Regions from separate parts of the Homo sapiens genome. Here regions 1, 2 and 4 are each linked to region 3. Evidence: promoter capture Hi-C in 16 types of primary human blood cells and fetal thymus (Javierre and others, 2016). All regions are on one chromosome and are shown on one strand. Each heading gives the region's core, a stretch centred on a gene start or on the middle of the fragment in contact. The rest is flanking DNA. Distances are from core to core; before and after follow the strand shown. Region 1 overlaps PDE6H (phosphodiesterase 6H). Region 2 overlaps ARHGDIB (Rho GDP dissociation inhibitor beta). Region 3 holds the start of GSG1 (germ cell associated 1). Region 4 overlaps ATF7IP (activating transcription factor 7 interacting protein).

The links. The method cuts DNA at HindIII sites, captures the fragments that hold promoters and counts their contacts. A CHiCAGO score of 5 or more calls a contact.
Region 1: a contact is called between a fragment that was not itself captured here and the fragment with the promoter of GSG1 in region 3, in 1 of 17 cell types (M2 macrophages). The highest score is 5.2, in M2 macrophages.
Region 2: a contact is called between a fragment that was not itself captured here and the fragment with the promoter of GSG1 in region 3, in 1 of 17 cell types (M1 macrophages). The highest score is 6.3, in M1 macrophages.
Region 4: a fragment that was not itself captured here is called in contact with the fragment with the promoter of GSG1 in region 3 in 2 of 17 cell types (M1 macrophages and M0 macrophages); the score reaches 5.5 in M1 macrophages.

What each region holds. Positions count from the first base shown.
Region 1 is chr12:14,974,199-14,978,521 of GRCh38, reverse strand. PDE6H (phosphodiesterase 6H) reads right to left here. Exons shown (of 4, transcript NM_006205.3): 2 at 376-550. The coding sequence starts at 509. Among named protein-coding and RNA genes, the nearest start is that of PDE6H, 3.3 kb to the right of the region's middle. The HindIII fragment of the contact is 2,739 bases long and covers 1,102-3,840 here.
Region 2 is chr12:14,956,366-14,960,804 of GRCh38, reverse strand. The region is part of intron 1 of ARHGDIB (Rho GDP dissociation inhibitor beta); the gene reads left to right. Among named protein-coding and RNA genes, the nearest start is that of ARHGDIB, 3.0 kb to the left of the region's middle. RefSeq lists an enhancer at 752-861. The HindIII fragment of the contact is 2,551 bases long and covers 889-3,439 here.
Region 3 is chr12:13,101,124-13,105,868 of GRCh38, reverse strand. It overlaps GSG1 (germ cell associated 1), which reads left to right and starts at 2,202. Exons shown (of 7, transcript NM_001080555.4): 1 at 2,202-2,404. The coding sequence starts at 2,357. It overlaps LOC105369666 (a long non-coding RNA gene), which reads right to left and starts at 4,439. Exons shown (of 2, transcript XR_931369.3): 1 at 4,129-4,439; 2 at 3,423-3,882. RefSeq lists silencers at 4,264-4,313, 4,594-4,745. The HindIII fragment of the contact is 5,406 bases long and covers 1-3,144 here.
Region 4 is chr12:14,383,568-14,387,980 of GRCh38, reverse strand. All of the region lies in intron 1 of ATF7IP (activating transcription factor 7 interacting protein), which reads right to left. Among named protein-coding and RNA genes, the nearest start is that of ATF7IP, 20 kb to the right of the region's middle. The HindIII fragment of the contact is 1,191 bases long and covers 2,148-3,338 here.

The DNA.
Region 1 (4,323 bases), core at 1,222-3,721, 1.9 Mb before region 3:
GATACAAAATTGGAAGACATAAATATAAGCTATATTTTCTGGAAATGGTCAGTGGTTCAGTGTTACAGATTAACGTAGAGGTTGTCTCAGTAAAGAGGAGTGGTCATCAAAAGCCTGCAAGGCAAAGTCAAAGTTTATTGTAAAAAGCCTCTATTTGCCATGTTAAATTCGGCCACAGACCTGGAAGTTGAGAAGGAAAGAATTCCAGGGATAAAGACACAATTCATCAAAGATGGAGTTACAGAGGAAAAGAGAGGATGGAGTGGAAATTTTTGTAAGTCTGTTTAATATTGTGAGCACCAATTTCCCAAAACAAAAGCAGTCTTGTGGGAAAAAGAAAGTAATAGAAAGTTTTTCTTTTCATTTTGGTCTTACCCTTTCACACCTTTCTTTGGAGGTTTACTCTTGAATTGGCGAGTCTGCCTCTGCTTGAACTTGGGAGGGCCTTTGCGTGGGGTGGTAGGACCCTGGTTTGAAGCTGGAGCAGGCAGAGTAGTGTTGTCACTCATTTTAACTCCCCCCGGGCGGCTGATGTTTCCCTTTCAGCCTCCTTAGACAGTGAAAGATAAAAAAAAGAAGATCTTTCAAGTCATGGGGACCATTGGTTATTAGATCTTTATTTCAGGCTGGAGAAGAAAAGTACTTCAACAAGAAAGCTCAGTATTTTGTGTTGACACAAAAGGGGAGAAGTTATCATCTTTAAAAGGGATCTTTAAGAAAACAGAGTATAAATCAATGCAGGCACTTAATGGAATGGAATGGAAACTTACCTTCTGCTACATTACTTACACAATCTATCAGTTGTGTAAACGGACAATTGATAGATTTTAAAACTCAGAAATCTAGGTAGCTATGCTGTTCCCATGGATCTGCCACTGAAAACAATTTTTAAATAAATAAATTAAATTAAAGCTTCACATTAGGTATAACAAATTAAAATTTAAAAATAAATAAATAAAATAGATTTGCCACAAGCATTCTACGTGAATTTATTATGATGCTGTACTTCTCTGTGACTACCAGTTCTGTCAGTTACGAAGAGAGGAAAATGGACTCAGTGATATCTATAGTCTTTTACAGCATCTGCAATTTCTTTAAGCTTTACATATTCTTCCATCCAGCTGTAAAATAACCTGACTCTAAATGTTTATTGAGCATTTTTTATGGCCTCTGTTTTTTTATAGTCCTTCATGTCCTTATAGTTTAAGATAGGATTATTTTGTTTAATCCTCACATGAACCAGAAACTTCTCTCTTAGTTCTGGGAGATGACAGTGTAGTTGTCTGGACAGGAGGACCTCTGAAGCAGGAATACCAACACCCATGAATATATTCAACACATCTTAATACACACGCACATACAGAAGTTAATGAAGGATAATTAAGTAATACGTTTGTGCTTCAACTCTACGTCGAGACATAAGGTTCTTCAGCCCCCACTTTTCACAAATCTTCAATGCCTTCTTCTATCCACACCACGGACCTATCCAATATGGTGTTCTCAGACTTTAATTTGGCTACAGAAATGCACATTGCCATTCTTCAAATACAAATCAAAGAAAATTATTGAAAAAGATAAATTTAAGCAATTAATGTGTCATTTTGGATGACGTTATTTTCTTTCTTCCTTTCTTTCGTAAGAGTTAACAAAACTTGCTCTTGGAAGGAAGATCCTGAAAAGCCCCAGAGAACTCCAAATTGCTTTTGCCTCTTACCCTGAGACAGTCTCCTCTATAAAAACTAGTGTGTGGGGGCTTTGTCTCCATAAGATTCCTTATTTCACCCATTGCAGATTTATGCTAATATTCTTTTTTCTTTTTTTTTAAGAGAGACAAGTTCTTGCTCCATCAGCCAGGCTGTAGTGCAGTGGTGCAATTGCAATCATAGCTCACTACAGCCTCAAACTCCTGGGCTCAAGTGACCCTCCCGCCTCAGCCTCCCGAAGTGCTAGGTTTACAGGCATGACCCATCACACCAGCCTATGCTAATACTGTTAACTGCAAACCTCCCTGACAGTCTTTGGCTCGTGCTAACAATGACTCTCTTTACTGGCCACACTGCATATTCCTGAAACCTCATATTCTATAACTTCCAGTCCATACTGTTTTCTTATTTCCTTGACAATTGGGTTGCAATTATTATCCTCGCCTCCAAGATTTTTCTCTTATTTAAATTCTGATTATTACTAAATTATTACCCTTGCCAGTACCAGGGATGGTGAGATTGGCCAGGACCCTGGACCACCTGCTCATGCTGTGATTCCTTCCTTTATCCCCTACTGGACTAGCTTCATGAGGCTGTCCTTCCAGTCTCAGAACCTACAACAGTGCATGGTGTACAGTAATCATGCCATATATATTATATTTGTCAAATGAGTTAATAAATTAATTTAGAAATTGAACAGGCCAGGCACGGTGGCTCACGCCTGTAATCCCAGCACTTTGGGAGGCCGAGGCGGGCGGATCACGAGGTCAGGAGATCAAGACCATCCTGGCTAACACGGTGAAACCCCATCTCTACTAAAAATACAAAAGATTAGCCAGGTGTGGTGGCGGGCACCTGTAGTCCCAGCTACTTGGGAGGCTGAGGCAGGAGAATGGTGTGAACCCAGGAGGTGGAGTTTGCAGTGAGCTGAGATTGTGCCACTGCACTCCAGCCTGGGCGACAGGGCAAGACCCCGTCTCCAAAAAAAAAAAACAAAAAAAAAAAACAAAAGAAATTGAACAAATACTGTAAACCTTGGTCATGAGATCCTGACCCTTTGACTTCTCCATCAGAGCACAGAGAAGTCATTAGCTTTCAGGCTTTAGGAAATGCACTGCCAGTTCCTCTGCTCACTAAATTCAGTTCCCGTTCTGTGGGCCCTCTCTACCCCCGGTAGACAGGCAAACCTTGTGTCTGTCCCAAGTGTGGTTGGGACCCTGGGAATAGCTGGTGAGCAGCCAAGATCTGCGCTGTGCTCAGAGTGGACCACCAGTAACTGACACATCCCAGCCCTGCCAGAGTCACAGAGGGCAGCTAGAGAATTGCTCTCAGATCAAGGTTTTTGAACTGCCCAGGATTTTCAAGGTAGAAGAAATCAAAAAGTTTCTTTTCTCTCATCTAAAGAATCTATTAGGGTTAGAATTGCCAGATTAAGCCAAAAAAAAAAAAATTACAAGACACCCAGTTCAATTTGAATTACAAAGAAATAATTTTTTTTAGTAAAGTATATCTCAGCTGTTTCATGGTACATATTTATACTTTAAAAAGTCATTTTTTTTCTGGAATTCAAATTGAACTGGCATCCTTCATTTTTATCTGGCAGCCCTAATAAGATCCAATTGAGTTGGATCCAGAGTTCTATAATGTAAGGGCCTAAAGTGACCCTCATTTGTCAAATTGTCCTTTGATGGTAACACGGTAGAGAGTACACTCTTTAGAATCAAACTGATATAGTTTTAAGTTCCTACTCCACAGAACTGGCTACGTGACTTAGGATAAATTTCATAATCCTCTGTGGGTCTTATTCCATCTATAAAATGAATCAAACAAGACCTTCCTTTTAGAGTTATGGGGAAATTTTAGGAAGACAATATAAGTAGAGTGGTACAAAGTGTTCAAAAAGGGCAAATATATGCTAGACCTTCTGAGAGAAAAGAAAGCCATGCAAACAAATCTGTGGTTATGACACTTGTTCACCTGGACTCTGCACCTCCTTCCTCTGGGCCAACTGCTGAAGGGCCCTTGCCATACACCAGAGGGGCAATTATCATCTGCCCTCGCTGGGTAATTCTCTGCTTCCTTCAAACACCCCGACTGTTAACTTATTTCTGGTCTTAAAATTCTGTCTTAAGAAGCTTTCCTTGAATTCCTTTGACACCCCAACAGCAACCCCGAAGAATTTAAAAATCACACGTGACATCCATATTCCCCAATGATACATCCCCTTTTTTCTTGCAAGTTTCTTTTGCATTTTTACATAATTTTGAAGTTACACCTCTAGGCTTAGAAAGTGTTCATGTCTGAGTATGATGCATTATATGAAAGAAGCCTCCTCAGAAAGAGTTACATAACAGTTGCCAGGTTAATCCCTTGATCCTAATGGTGCTCAGGATTTGCACTAGGTAACCGGAACAGTCGACTAATCCCTATGCAGTTTCTGTCATAGATTTACCCTCCAATTCTCTCTGCAAAACCTTTAGGAAGGGTAGAACACCTCTGACCTTTTCCTGCATTGGAAGCCAGTCCTGTTGTCCATAAACATCACCAAAGGCTAACCTCATGCTGACCACACCTTTCTAGAAATTCTAAGGGCATCTGGAGCTGAGTAACCTTAAATGTA
Region 2 (4,439 bases), core at 915-3,414, 1.9 Mb before region 3:
AGGGCTGGGCGTGGTGGCTCACGCCTGCAATCCCAGCACTTTGGGAGGCCGAGGCGGGTAGATCACCTGAGGTCAGGAGTTCAAGACCGGCTTGACCAACATGGTGAAACCCCATCTCTACTGAAAATACAAAATTAGCTGGGTGTGGTGGTGCATCCCTGTAATCCCAGTTATTTGGGAGGCTGAGGCAGGAGAATCACTTGAACCCAGGAGGCAGGGGTTGCAGTGAGCCAAGATCACGCCATTGCACTCCAGCATGGGCAACAAGAGCGAAACTCTGGCTCAAAAAATAAAAATATTAATAATGATAATAGCCCTTTAGGTATGAGATAACTAACAGCAAACATGGAAAACACCAAATAACGTATTAAGAGACAGGTTTGAGAAAAATTCAAGGGGGCCCAGCTAGGACAGCTGATCAGTGGGCCTTCAAAATGTCAAGGTCTGAATTTCAGCCACCATTAGGAGAAGTGCTTTAGGTATGACCTGAAATACTTTCTTCCCTTTTAGAGGACTTCCCAGCCAGCATGTTTCATAAACATAATCTGTAATTAAACTCTAGACCTATGGTAACTTGAGGTGTGTGTCTGGCAAGCCCTGGGCAGTTCTTCATTCAGAGTGGGGAAAGGCAGACTGCTCTCACCCGGAGGGCTCATGGTCACCACTTCACATGGAGACCTAGAGCCCCTGGAGTCAGGGTTGGCCTGGCCATCTTCACTGCAGGGATGGTCAGGCACAGGAGATCAAGAGGACCATGGCACCTGTTGGTCCGGAGAGACAGGGGGCAGAGGTCCAGTCCCTAGCAGGCATCGTGAATCTTGCCATTGGCTTTGTGTTTTTTTAATTTGTAAGAATATATTCCCTCCCAAAGCAGATATAGCACAAGCTTAGTAACAAGAGCATCTTACTCTTTTGTGAGATGTGTGAAATTCTAAGAGACAGTTCTTTCTCCATCCATGCTTCACAGATGCAAAACCTGAGGACTAACTATGCTGTCACTGAACAGAAACTGGCAAGCATTTTTCAGGCCTCGACTGGAATTTGGTCCTTCCTTGCTTTGGAGAGCATGAGTTTGTCCCCTAGGGAAGTTAGCTCTGAGCAACATTAAGGTTCTGTTTTCAGTAGACACTCAGCACCACAAAGTCATTCTGAGGGAAAGATACGGGTCTGAGCTGATTTGGGAGAGCACAGTACATGACAAACATCAGCTAGCAGGAAAAGAGAAGCCCTGGGGAGTCGAAATTATGCAGATAGAAAAGGAGAACCAACATTCATTGAGTGCCTTCTATGTGTCAGGCCTGGTGATAAAAACTTTCAAATTTTGTTCCTGAGAAGAATGCAGAAGTGTTCAATAATTTGACTAAAATTACATACTGATACAAAAAGGATCAATAGCCACAATGCCTCTGAATTGCAATTCACAGGGCATGGTGGTGCGTGCCTGTGGTCCTACCTACTCAGGAGGCTCACGTGATCCTCCCGCCTCAACCTCCCGAGTAGCTGGGACTATAGGCGCGCATCACCACGCTGGCTAATTTTACCATTTTTAGTAGAGACGGGGTTTCTCCATGTTGCCAGGGCTGGTCTTGAATTCCTGGGCTCAAGCAATCCGCCTGCCTTGGCCTCCCAAAGTCCTGGGATTAAAGGCGTGAGCCACCATGCATGGCCTATTATTATTTTTTTGAGACAAGTCTCACTCTGTCACCCGAGCTGAAGTGCAGGGGCGTGAACGCAGCTCACTGCAGCCTCGACCTCCTGAGGCTCAGGTGATCTCCCACATTCTTTAGGAAGAATCACATGGAAGAAATTTTCTCCAATTCCATATTTTGAGAGTTCTTATTCCTGGTTTGTGTTATTGCTGCCCGGGATCCTGTATTCAAGGCTACACTGGCATACCCAGAGATGAGTCTCATGTTGCCCCTGAAACGTCAGCAACATTTATCTGTGCAATAAGCACATCCTGAATCATCCTGTGTTGTGTTACTCTCTGGTGTCCACAGCCAAAGAGTGAATTTTACCGCTGGTAAAAATTCACTTGGGCTTTCTTAAAGAGCCTAATAATCTTAGCACAAACGGTCATAAAAAAAATTCTCTCTCAATTCTGTCTAACTTTTCATGCTAATTTAAAACTTTTGTGAATATATTGAGATACTGAAGGCAATGGCTTCCTTAATGCACAGTTTTCTTTGAGAATTATTTAAAATAATATTTGTGAAGGTACTTGGTGGCATGACTTCACACGTTGGGCACTCAGCAAAGCTCACGGGATCTCTTTGAGTTCTCTCTCTTTGTGCATATGAATGTGGGTTAGAAAAACACACTAAAAAATGCACAGGCAAGAAATAATAAATTGTTTCTCTCACAAAGACAAATGGTAAGAAATTACGTTTCTAGTAATTTGTGCCCTTCTCTGGATTGATTACAATATTTATTGTCTCTTACAAAATAATCTTGTCTTTGGTTTTTCTCATCCAGTTTTGAAGTTTTCGTAGTCCTTCATGGGGCTGAGGTGGTAGAAAGCAGCACCGCAAAGTGGGGAGTATGGATTCCTCCATGTCACCAGGGACAGGGGCGGTGGGGAGAGGGTGGAATCCCGAACCAAGAAGGCTTCTGGTGTCCTGAGAGACAAATTTGCAATCCCGTAATACACCAAATTGCCAGGCAAGCAGCACAGCACATTCAAATCCTTGACTAGCTCTGAAATGTCAACAGTGTTTTAGAGATGGCCTGACTCTCCAGACCTGCACTAGACCCACAGCCCGATTTGGGGGAAGTCAGACATATCCTAGTCAGCAGGGAAAGTGGAGGTAGCAGGAGTTACAGAGAATGCTGATGCTCACATAGGAACTTCTCTGATAGAAATCCCCTACTTCTGGTATTTCCACTTTTCTCTCTCTCTTCCCTCTCTCTCTTTCTCCCTTCTCCCTCCTCTCTCTCTCCTCTTTCTCTCTCCCTCTTTCCCCTCTTCCTTCTCTCTCTCTCATCGCTATCTCTTCTACCTAATACATTAATATCCATGGCCTGTGTGTCTAGATGCATAATCCAGCACAATTTTGCAGATCCAGCTTTGGGCCGTGAGTTAAGTCTCTGTGGTATTTTGCTCCAGAGCCAGAGGGAATTCTCTTCATTAGCTGTGCCTGTGTTCACTGACATTTCTCATCATTCGCAGAGTGACCTCTGGCTTCAATGAAGACAGGGAGCAATAAATAAAACCTAAAATTAAATTGTTTACATGAAAGTTTTTAAAAGAAATATAATATAGTCTCATTTTAAGGTTGATTCAGTTTTTAAACAATCCTTTCAATTCCCCAGAACTTCTTATCTCTTTAATACTCCTCAAAGACAAAAATCTATTTTTAAGGAGGAAGGAGTGGGGACATAGCTCCCATCCAGGGGAAAGTATTTGGTGTGGAAACAGTTACCTAGCTTCAGTGAAGCTTTGCAACAAAGCAGACCACACTGGGGCAGGGAAGGAAGAAGAGGAAGGGAACAAATATTCACGGAACATCTATTCTTGACCAGTATAGTCCTATAATTTTTCATGTGTTTTCTCCAATCTTTCAACCCCGTAAAAAAGAATATCCCCATTTTAGTGGTGATAAAACTGAGGCTCAGTGAAATTAGCAACTTGATTGAGTCCTGTCATAATGCAGAGCCTGGTTTTGAATCCCTGGTCCATCTGACTCAATCTATGTTCTATGAGACATGAAAGTCACCTTTCTCTGAATTACCCAGGTAATTTGTTTAATCTAAACTCAGGAGTTCTACCTTTTCTTGTCCTCAGTTCATTTAGAGCTGCATTAATGAAACAGATGATGCTCTATCCTGACATGGGTGTAAATTTTTAAGTGTAATTCACTTTCAAAGTCTTGGAAATTTCACTGAATTTGCAAGCAAAAACATTGATGTGTGCTATGTCATATGCATGCTGTGAGTAACCATCCTAATTTAATTCGACATTTTAATTGAGCCTGAGAAGATTAAGTCCCCATCTCAGCACATCTAATGCTTGCCAGTGCTTTGCTGAGTAGCAAACATGAGGATGTGAGGCCTCCAATGTGAAAGTTAATCTGTATGCGCATCTGTGAAGCAGAAAATACAGAAAACTAGAGTAGCAAGCCTGTGTGAAAAAATGATATGTGCTTTGGGGCCTAATAAATGGGGTCCACATTAACCTGGTTAAACATATAACTGTTCATTCTCCATTTCATTTTTCCTGTGCAAAGGACCAAAGTCAAAAATAAGCAAAACTCAGCTCTGCCCTTTGTAGAATAGGGGATGAGCAGCTGAGGAAGGTGAGGAAAGCCCATCCAGAAGATTCTATGCTGATGGGCTGAGTCCTCCCCAATCTCCCTTTTACTTCCTCTTTTCTTTTCTCATTTCACAAGCTTCTTTAAATTAGGGAGCATTTGAGTCATTAAATTAAGAAGGGGCCTCAG
Region 3 (4,745 bases), core at 953-3,452:
GAACATTTTTTCATATATTTAGGGTCATTCATATGTCTCTCTCTCTCTCTCTCTCTTTTTTTTTTTTTTTTCTTTTTTTGAGGCAGTCTTGCGCTGTCACCCAGCATCGCCCAGGCTGGAGTTCAGTGGCAGGATCATGGCTCACTGCAGCCTCAACTTCCCGGGCTCAAGCAATCCTCCCACCTCGGTCTCCCAAGTAGCTGGGACTACAAGCGCTCACAACCTCGCCCAGCTAATTTTTGTACTTTTCGTAGCAATAAGGTTTCACTGTGTTGCCCAGGCTGGTCTTGAACTCCTGGGCTCAAGTTATCCTCCTGCCTCGGCCTCCTGACGTGCTGGGATTAAGCATCCGGCCATAATCTCATTTTTAAAATTCAGATCTCTAGTCCATCTAGAGTTTATTCTTGTATATGATTTTTAAATAAATATAATTTATATTTTTCTAAATGGCTATCTAGTTTATCCCAACAACATTTCTTAAAAAAATCATCTGTGCCCCAGTGATTACAGATATCACCTTTGTCCTATACTGGAAGTCTATACATAGCTGTGTTTATCTCTAGACTTTCTGTTCTCTTCCATTGGCCTGTTTGTCTAGTCATGCACCAGTACCACATTGTTTTTTTTTGGTTTTTTTGTTTTTTTTAATATACTTTAAGTTCTAGCGTACATGTGCACAACGTGCGGGTTTGTTACATATGTATACATGTGCCATGTTGTTTTAATCATAGAGGCTTTGTAGTATGCTTTATATCAATTAGGGCTAGCACCACCTCAGAGCTCTTCCTTTTCAGGGTTTTCCTAGCTAGTCTTGTGTATTTTTTTCCCATATAAACTTTAATATCAACTTGTGTTGGTCTTTTAAAATACTCATGGTTATTTGTATTAAATTTATAAATTAACTTATAACGGACATCTTGATCAATTTAAGATGTGCCAAAAATAAGGCATGTTGTTCCATTGGGGAAGTTATTGGCACTTCGAGATCCGATGTTCTCTCTTAGATACTTCCTTAGGTAGTTTAGGTCATTAAATAAAATAATAAATATTTCTTGAGCAGCTACTATGCCCTTGGCACTATATTAAGCACGATAGAAGTAAAAAACCAGATTCTGTCCTCAAGCAGCTTAGAATTTCACGAGAGAAACAGACTAACACACCAAAAGCAAAGCAGGCATGCTGTATGAGCAAAGAGGAAATGGGGAGTAAGGAGGGCTAGAGCCACAAGGTAGTGAGACTGGAATCATGTGCCCTGAGGTTGTGTAAGATTTAGGCAGGGCAGCAAGGAGAAGGAAGGGATCCCAGTGAGGGGAACCCTGGCAAAAGCTCAGAGGAGGACTGAGTGTGACAGGTTTCACAGGGCAGAGGGCCCCATCCAGACTGTTAGCTGGAATCCTGGATGAGGCCCTCTTCCAGTCTCCGAGAGTTATGCCTCCATATTAACAGTCCCCAAACACTAATTATGTATTCATTAAAATGATGTTAGTGAATGTTTGCTGGGTTTCCAGATACTAGCCCTTTAGAATGGTAATTTCTGTACATTGTTACCTTTTCAGGGAATGGCCTTGAGTTGTGCCATCCAATACAGTAGCTACTTGCCATGTGTGGCTGTGGAGCCCTTATGATATGGATAGTGCAACTGAGCAACTGAATTTCTAATTTTATGTAATTTGAATTCACTAAATTTTAATTTTAAAATGAAAGTAGTATAAAATATTTTTCATTAAACCCAACTTTATTGTGTGGGGAGGGCTACATTTTAAACATAGTATTGTATAACATATGATTGCTGTATCACAGTATGTGTGTCCAATTTACTTTTTTTAATGTGGCTACCAGAAAATTTTAAATGACATATGCTGCCCACATTGCATTTTGCTTTGACAGCACTGGTCTAGAGTCTCACAACTCAGTGTGGTCTGGCTGGACTCACGTGAGAGCCATCCCAGACTCTGCACTTGACTAAGTCAGGATCTGCACTTGACTAAGTTCCCCAGGTGAATCTTATGCACAATAAGATAAGCACTGATCTGGACGACCTCAGAAGACATCCAGCCACTGGTAGGTACCCAGCATGACCCCCCCCAATCCTTATGGGAGGAGGCTGAGGGAGCAACAGGGAGACCCCTGACTGCCGTTGTGACATCACAGAATAAACCCCACGGGTCACCCAACCCCGCCCTGGCTGGTGTCTGGCCCTCAGGACATCCTCTCCAATCCACCACACACCACCTTACCCCTCTGCTGGCAAGAGGGGACCTGATTCATCCTCACGCTAAACACTCATTCTACCCAACTGATTGAGACAGAACAGAAGATAAACTGAAACTTCTCTGCCTTCCCGCTGCAAGAGTGAATGAGCGATCCCTCTCAACTGACTCAAAATGTTTGCCTCACCCAGGAGGTAGGTACAGTGATTTTGAAATCTCATGAACATCTCATACACATATCTTTACTGCTGGATTTGTAACACAGGTTACACTAACTCATCAATTTCATGTATTTCACATGGTCACAGTAAAGAGCTTGGAAATGCACTATAGGGTTCTACAAAATGGAATGAAAATGTGTCACTCAGCCCAGTTTTCATAGATAAAACTGGTATGTCCATACCTTGGCCTATTACCTTTTCATCTTCCTTCATTAAAACTTCCATTTCTTCTTCCCTTGTCTCATCATCTTCCTTCTCCTTTCTGTTCCCAGGGCTCCCTATGCCTCTCCTTTTTTCCTTTCATCTGCATTATTCCCGTTGCCAAAATCTGGAGCCTGGTAAAGGCCCAGTAGCGGTGGCAACAATAGAGCTGTGTGTCACCCCAGTGAGCTGAAAGAGCAGACATCAAGCTCTATGCCAGAGAACAGTGGGGCATCCCCAAGGTCCTGCTGGAAGGCAGCTCTGATCTGGAACTGGGAAGGACAACACACAGTCAAGCTCTTTCTCGTCTCAGAGAATCCAGCAGAATCTTCAGGGATCCTTCCAGACCAGGAAGACTCTCACACTCTGCAGAGAAGTTGCGGCTTGTTTAGCATTTGACCTACATTCAGAAACGACCAGCCTCCCAACTTTCAGCTCTAAGGATTACTTAAAAAAACAAATGGTGTTCATTCTCAGATATCTTGCCTTTCTCAGGAGAGAAAAATGAAGCTTGCAATTAGCCAGCAAACTAGCACATACACAAACACACACACACGTACATACACTCCAACACAGGGAGCAATGTGGTATGTTGTTGACCAGCTGGAAGTTAGGATCTCAAAGGAAAGAACAGGATAACTTAAGAGGCACTTCTGGGACTGCAGAGCTGAGCTGGTGGTTCTGAAGAGCCATCGGAGTGTGGGTTCAGGCAGCTTCCCTAATTCAGAAGCAGCCCCAAGTGAATAGATGACAAAGAAGTGGATGTGAACATGACAGAAAAAGCCAGTCATGGCTTAGAATAAATTTTATTATTGTTCTTTATCAGTGGTTTTCCAGGAGAGACACAGAGGGAATATGGGAGCGTCTGGTTGCTAATATGTACCTGAGAAGTATAAAGTACACTTAATCCATTGCCTCAATCTGCAGGAGGTCCCATAAATCTGGCCTGCAATCTGTACATTTTGTTAAAGGTGACTGTGCCTTGGCTTTTACTGAGTGGCAGCCTGGTGATGAGTCAGGCGAACAGTCCTCAAAGATTGCCAGTGTTGACTTTACCATTTACTAGCTTTGTGGCCTTGAGCAAGTCAAACCCTCCGAATCGGAACCCTCACTTGTAGAATGGGGATGCCACGTCCCTTTCAGGCTGGTTGTGAGGATTAAGGAAGATGTCTGAAGGGTCTAGCAAGGTGTCTGCTGGTAGCACAGGTGCACTTCCCCTTCGTTTCTGCTTAGAGGCACTCTTCTTCTACCTGTTTTCGATTTTCACAGAACTAAGAAGGACAACTCTTTGCCCTCATTTACCCCTGAGGGTAAATTTAACCCTCTGGGAGGTTAAGTAACTTGGCCAAAATCCTCAGTGCAGTCGTGCATTGGGTCGTAAATAGAACTCGGATCTGCTGAGGGGTCTGGGTGGTGAAGTCCCGCCCTGGGGTCTTCCCAATGAGACGCAGACATCCCCTTCCCTTAGAACGGGAGCCTGGGACCCATAGCTTTACCGGGCAGAGGCAGGGAAATGCCTGACTTTGGACTCCAGCAGCTCGACACATCCCGAGCCCTGGCCCACCGGCCTGGGTGTAAGGAATCCCTCCGACTACCCAGTCTCTCCGCCCTCCCGCGCAGCCTCGCCAGGCGGCAGAGGGGACGCGCCTCAGGTGGCCTAGCGCCCCGGCCCAGCTCCGGGACACATGTGGCCCCGCCCTCCGCGGCTCGCCGGGTCCCTGGCCTGCCCTGGCAGTCCCTGCTCTCTGGGAGGGCCCCCGGGACACCGTTCTCAACCGACGGAGGAAGACCCAGAGGAAGAAACAGCCCGGGTACCCCCGCCCGACCCGGTCAGGAAGCCATGGGTGGTTGGCGGCCGCGGGGCGGGGCCTCGCAAACAATGCCAAACACGGCCGGCCTGTCGCCGCGGCAACGCGCCCCGCTGCTAGGCGACCGGGCGCCGTAGTAAACGGGAGAGACGGCGCGTTACTCATCAGGGTGGGAGGGCGCGCTCGGAAGTGGAGATGGCGCGGCCCAGGCACCCCCGAGAGGCCCCACCCGTTACGCCCCCGCCCCGCCCCGCGGTCCCCAAGCGCCCCCGGCCCCAGCCGGCCTGCTGGCGCCGTCACCCGCG
Region 4 (4,413 bases), core at 1,494-3,993, 1.3 Mb before region 3:
GCTCGTCAATGTCAGAAAAAGGTAGCAAAAACAGTATTCAAATTCAGGTTTGGACCCTTGGCCAGTGCCACCACCCTAACATTTCTCTTAGAGGCTTATGCAGATGAAATTGTTCATGAAAAAGGGTAAACAAAAGGGGAGAATTTTTAAAAGTGACAAAATAACATCATAAAACTTCAATTATTCAGCTCCCAGATTTATTATGCCCTCAATTACCCAGCATAATAGCTAACTGGAACTTGGAACAGAAAATTTGAGAACTATCACCAATCCCAAAAGCAATCATCTCATTAAGGGGTAATTTATGCTTACAGTTGCAAAAATGCAACACAGCAGGGAAAGAATTAGCAATAATATCCTGAGTAACCATAGGGCATTAGTATTTCCTCATGTACAGGTAATAATCTTGTAGAGGGTAGCGGCAAATATTACAGTTAGCAATAGAAGGCAAAAAGACTGGGTTATTAAAATTTCCCTAAGATCCCACTCAAGACCAGCATAAACTGCTCAATAATTTCAACATGGACAGTTTTTCGACATTATATAAAATGTTTTGAAATACACATATTTTTAAACACTAGAGTCTCCTCCCCTCCCACTCTCGCCACCAAGAAAATGAGCTGTTATTACTATTAAAAGGCATGAAAATAAGAGTGATCAAGGTCACAGCACATTCACTTTTCTATGTCATACTCACTCCAAGGATAACCTTACTGAAAGGAATGATGAATAGAATCCCTCAAACACATTGAAATGTTTTTCTTTTTCTTTTTTAGGTACAGTTCATATGACTGAATGATTTACATAAATTAGTGTTCAAATTATGAGAATCTACTATGTCATATAAGACAGTCCTAAAGATTTTACAATGTAGTGACTAAAGTGAAACAAAAATGCTAAAGCTGTTGATGAAACTGAGATAAATACTGATCCCAGAATATATTTTAAGCCACTAAATAAATGGACACTGATTTAATTAGGAAAAACAATTATTTTGTTTAAAAAAAATGTAAATAACAAATATAAACACAAGGCTGAGACAAGTCAACAATTTTAAACTGTTAAGTCATGTACATATAGATCTTATATTCCATCTTCATGAACATCAAAAATCAACATAACGAAGACACATTCTAGAATAATTTTCAAACTGAATTCCACAGTGCCTTAAGAGGCCAAGGTTCTACAAATAAGTGAACTAGATCTGGATCTAATACAAGATTATAATTGTCATGTACGATCTCGTTTCCAAGTTTTGTTTATCTTAATAGCATAATTATTGTCATTTTATTAAATACACATGACATGTGAATAAGTTTACAATATAAAATAAGTACATAACAATAAAATATCACGTGTCCTTTTGTTTCTTAAGCCTTGCAGAATTAAGCAGAAACCATAAGTATCCCTTTTATATATTGGAATCCTCCCTAAGAGTTTAACATGCAAAAAGTTTCTGTTTTTAGAAAGCTGCTCTACTCAGAAAGTTTAGAACTTACTGTTCTATGTCATATAAGTCAGGGATATATTCTTAATACTCTACGGACAAAACCAGGAGTATATTATACCAGCTAAAAAATATTTTAACAGGTACTGCAATTTAAGTATTGCTGCTTAAAGTATGCCTTTTCTGCTATCTGAAATACTACGTGAATAAGAATTTCATTCTCCCATCTTTCTGGGTAACCACAGACTTACAGTATCTCAATAAACATTTCTACTCCAGAACGATGTTAAGAAAGCTTTTTAAACTTTTTGAAATTAAATTTACAAAATCATTGAGCTATATTTCTTTTAAATATACTACAGGTTTGAATTAAGACTAAAATGAAAATATAACTTAATTAACTGAGTACTTCAGCTCTGATGGTATTTGAATACATTAGATATATTTTTTAAAAAGAGGTATCCATGACTAGATGTGAATTTATTTCTAAATTCAAAATCTGAATCTGAATGCCAACTTAAGCAAAAAGTAATTTGAACAAAGAAGCAAAGCAGCATTAAAAATGTCAAAGAGTTGGATACTGGGAGGAGGCAGCATGATGAGAAAGAACTGCAACCCATAATGCCAAAAAAAAAGATTTTGGACAGTATTAAAAATTTTTTTTCATGATTTATATAATTACCCTTCTTTCCAAAAAGCTTCCACACAATACCTCACAAAACCGTAGAAAAATTGTAGTCTTTGTGCAAAACAAGGCTTACTTATGGATCCTTTAAAAAAAAAATCTATTCAGATAATATATTGTTTTAATTTCTACAAATAAATACCAAACACACTAAAATAGCCTACACAAAAGGAATATTACATTAATTAGGGCCAGAAATGCACTACTATGGTGATCAAATGTTCTGGCAATGACAGAACATAAAATGGTGAGAAATTACAGGAATTTAACCTTTGACCCCACCATGCTATGTACTGTTTCCATAATAAAGGCTTAAAGGTTCTACCAAACATTTCAACTTTTTAAAAACCAAGCTCTAAGTTCACCCCTCTAAGTAAACTCAGTTAAATTCCTTTTTAAAAAAGAAAAAAATGAGAATGTTTAAGATAAAAGAGTAATTGGTTCTTACCTCTGGTCCTGATGCATGTGACAAGTCTCCTCACTGACATACTTGCTGCCTAAGCAGCTACAAAGACTAGGTTAGCAGCCATTTTGAGACAGCTGCACAGTCTCAGTTGCACAAAAGTGTAATTAAGATGGCTGCAATGTGCACTCAAGAACTCACACAGTGAAAACTCAGCTATGTAACAAACAAAGCCCCTCCCACTTTGTCAGCCTGCAGGAAACTGAACATAGACAACAGCTAATGCATATACTGCAACAAACAATGCAGCTACACAGGACACAGAAAAAGAAAACAGAAGGCAGCAAGCCAGTTTTGTAACATAATGCCTGTGAATCCCGTCTTGCAATACAGACTTTGGGCACATCCAGATCCCAAACAACTTGAAATCCATGCCACATATTAGCAGTTACAGAGATGGAGCCAAATCACACAGAGCAAACATCAGGGAATTCGCTTGAAAGAAAGCCTCCATTTCAGTCCAGAAAAAAAAAAAAAAAGTTAAACCTTGCTCAAGGCCTTTTTTTTTTTTTTACCTTTTATAGTTTTATCATGAAAAGAATTTCAATTTTATAATTTCTAGAAAATTGTTTAAATCCTGAAAATGACTTGATTGATTAAGTTAATTTCAATTTATAGAAGGCTAAAGATTTTCTCCACAGAATCTAAAAGCCCCAAAGTGCTCAAATCTAGCAGAACAGTTAAAGCCTACAATTAAATTTTTGAACCTTGATAACAGAATCTCTAGAAGATGGCAAAAAGCTTATTGAGTAATTTACCATAGATATAAAAATAATTTCTTCTCTTCAGTAGTACAGATGGTCACAAACATTAACATCCCCAGGTGAGTGTTTAGTCCCAGGGCAAATTACATTTCATGCCCTGACAAAGACCTCCCAACTTTTTGATGTGAGTGAAAAGCAAATAAAAACAAAGAATTATAGGCACCCTGATGGAAAGAAGGGAATTTTAAAAAAGAGTAAAACTCAGTCTAATAGATATATTAGCAAGACAAATTTGAAAGAGCTCCAACAAATGTGGGTTGGCAGAAACATATCAATCAAAGAGAAGGGAAGGACAAAAGCACAGAGAGAACCTGTTCACATCAGCAATAGAATCCACATTTTCTTTCTCTCTTCCTCAGTCTACCTTCCTAAAATCTAGCTAACCTGTGTATCTTGTTCTATCTATCACTAAATATAGGTATTTACTAAAAAGTTTTAAGGGTATAGGGGAGTAATAGGGATATAGCTAAAAGGAGATTGGCCCTATGACTTGACAATGGTTCAAGCTGAGCAATGGGCACACAGAATTTATTATCTCATTCTATTTCAGTATATATTTGAAATTTTCCATAATAAAAGTTTTTTAAATTACTTATCTTTAAAAGGTCCTTATGTATTTTCCATGAGGCAAAATGAATAATGTATGTAACAACTTCAGTATATCAGAAAAAAAAAGTTAAACTTGATCCAAGCCATATTAATTCTTTAAAAATACAACTGTGATTCTCAAGCAAAGACTATTCATTAAAAGCAAGATTTAGGCCAAGCACAGTGCTTCACACCTATAATCCCAACACTCTGGGAGGCCAAGGCGGAAGGCTCTCTTGAAGCCAGGAGTTTGAGACCTGCGTGGCCAACAAAGCGAGATCTCTGTCTGTCTCTACAAAAAAAATTTTTAAAACATTAGCAGGTGTGGTAATATGAACCTGTAGTTCCAGCTACTCAAGAGGCTGATGCAGGAAGATCACTTGAGCCCAGAAGTTCAAGGCTACAGTGAACTTGAACCACTGCACTCCATCCAGCCTAGTCAACAGAGCCAGATCCTGTCTCAAAA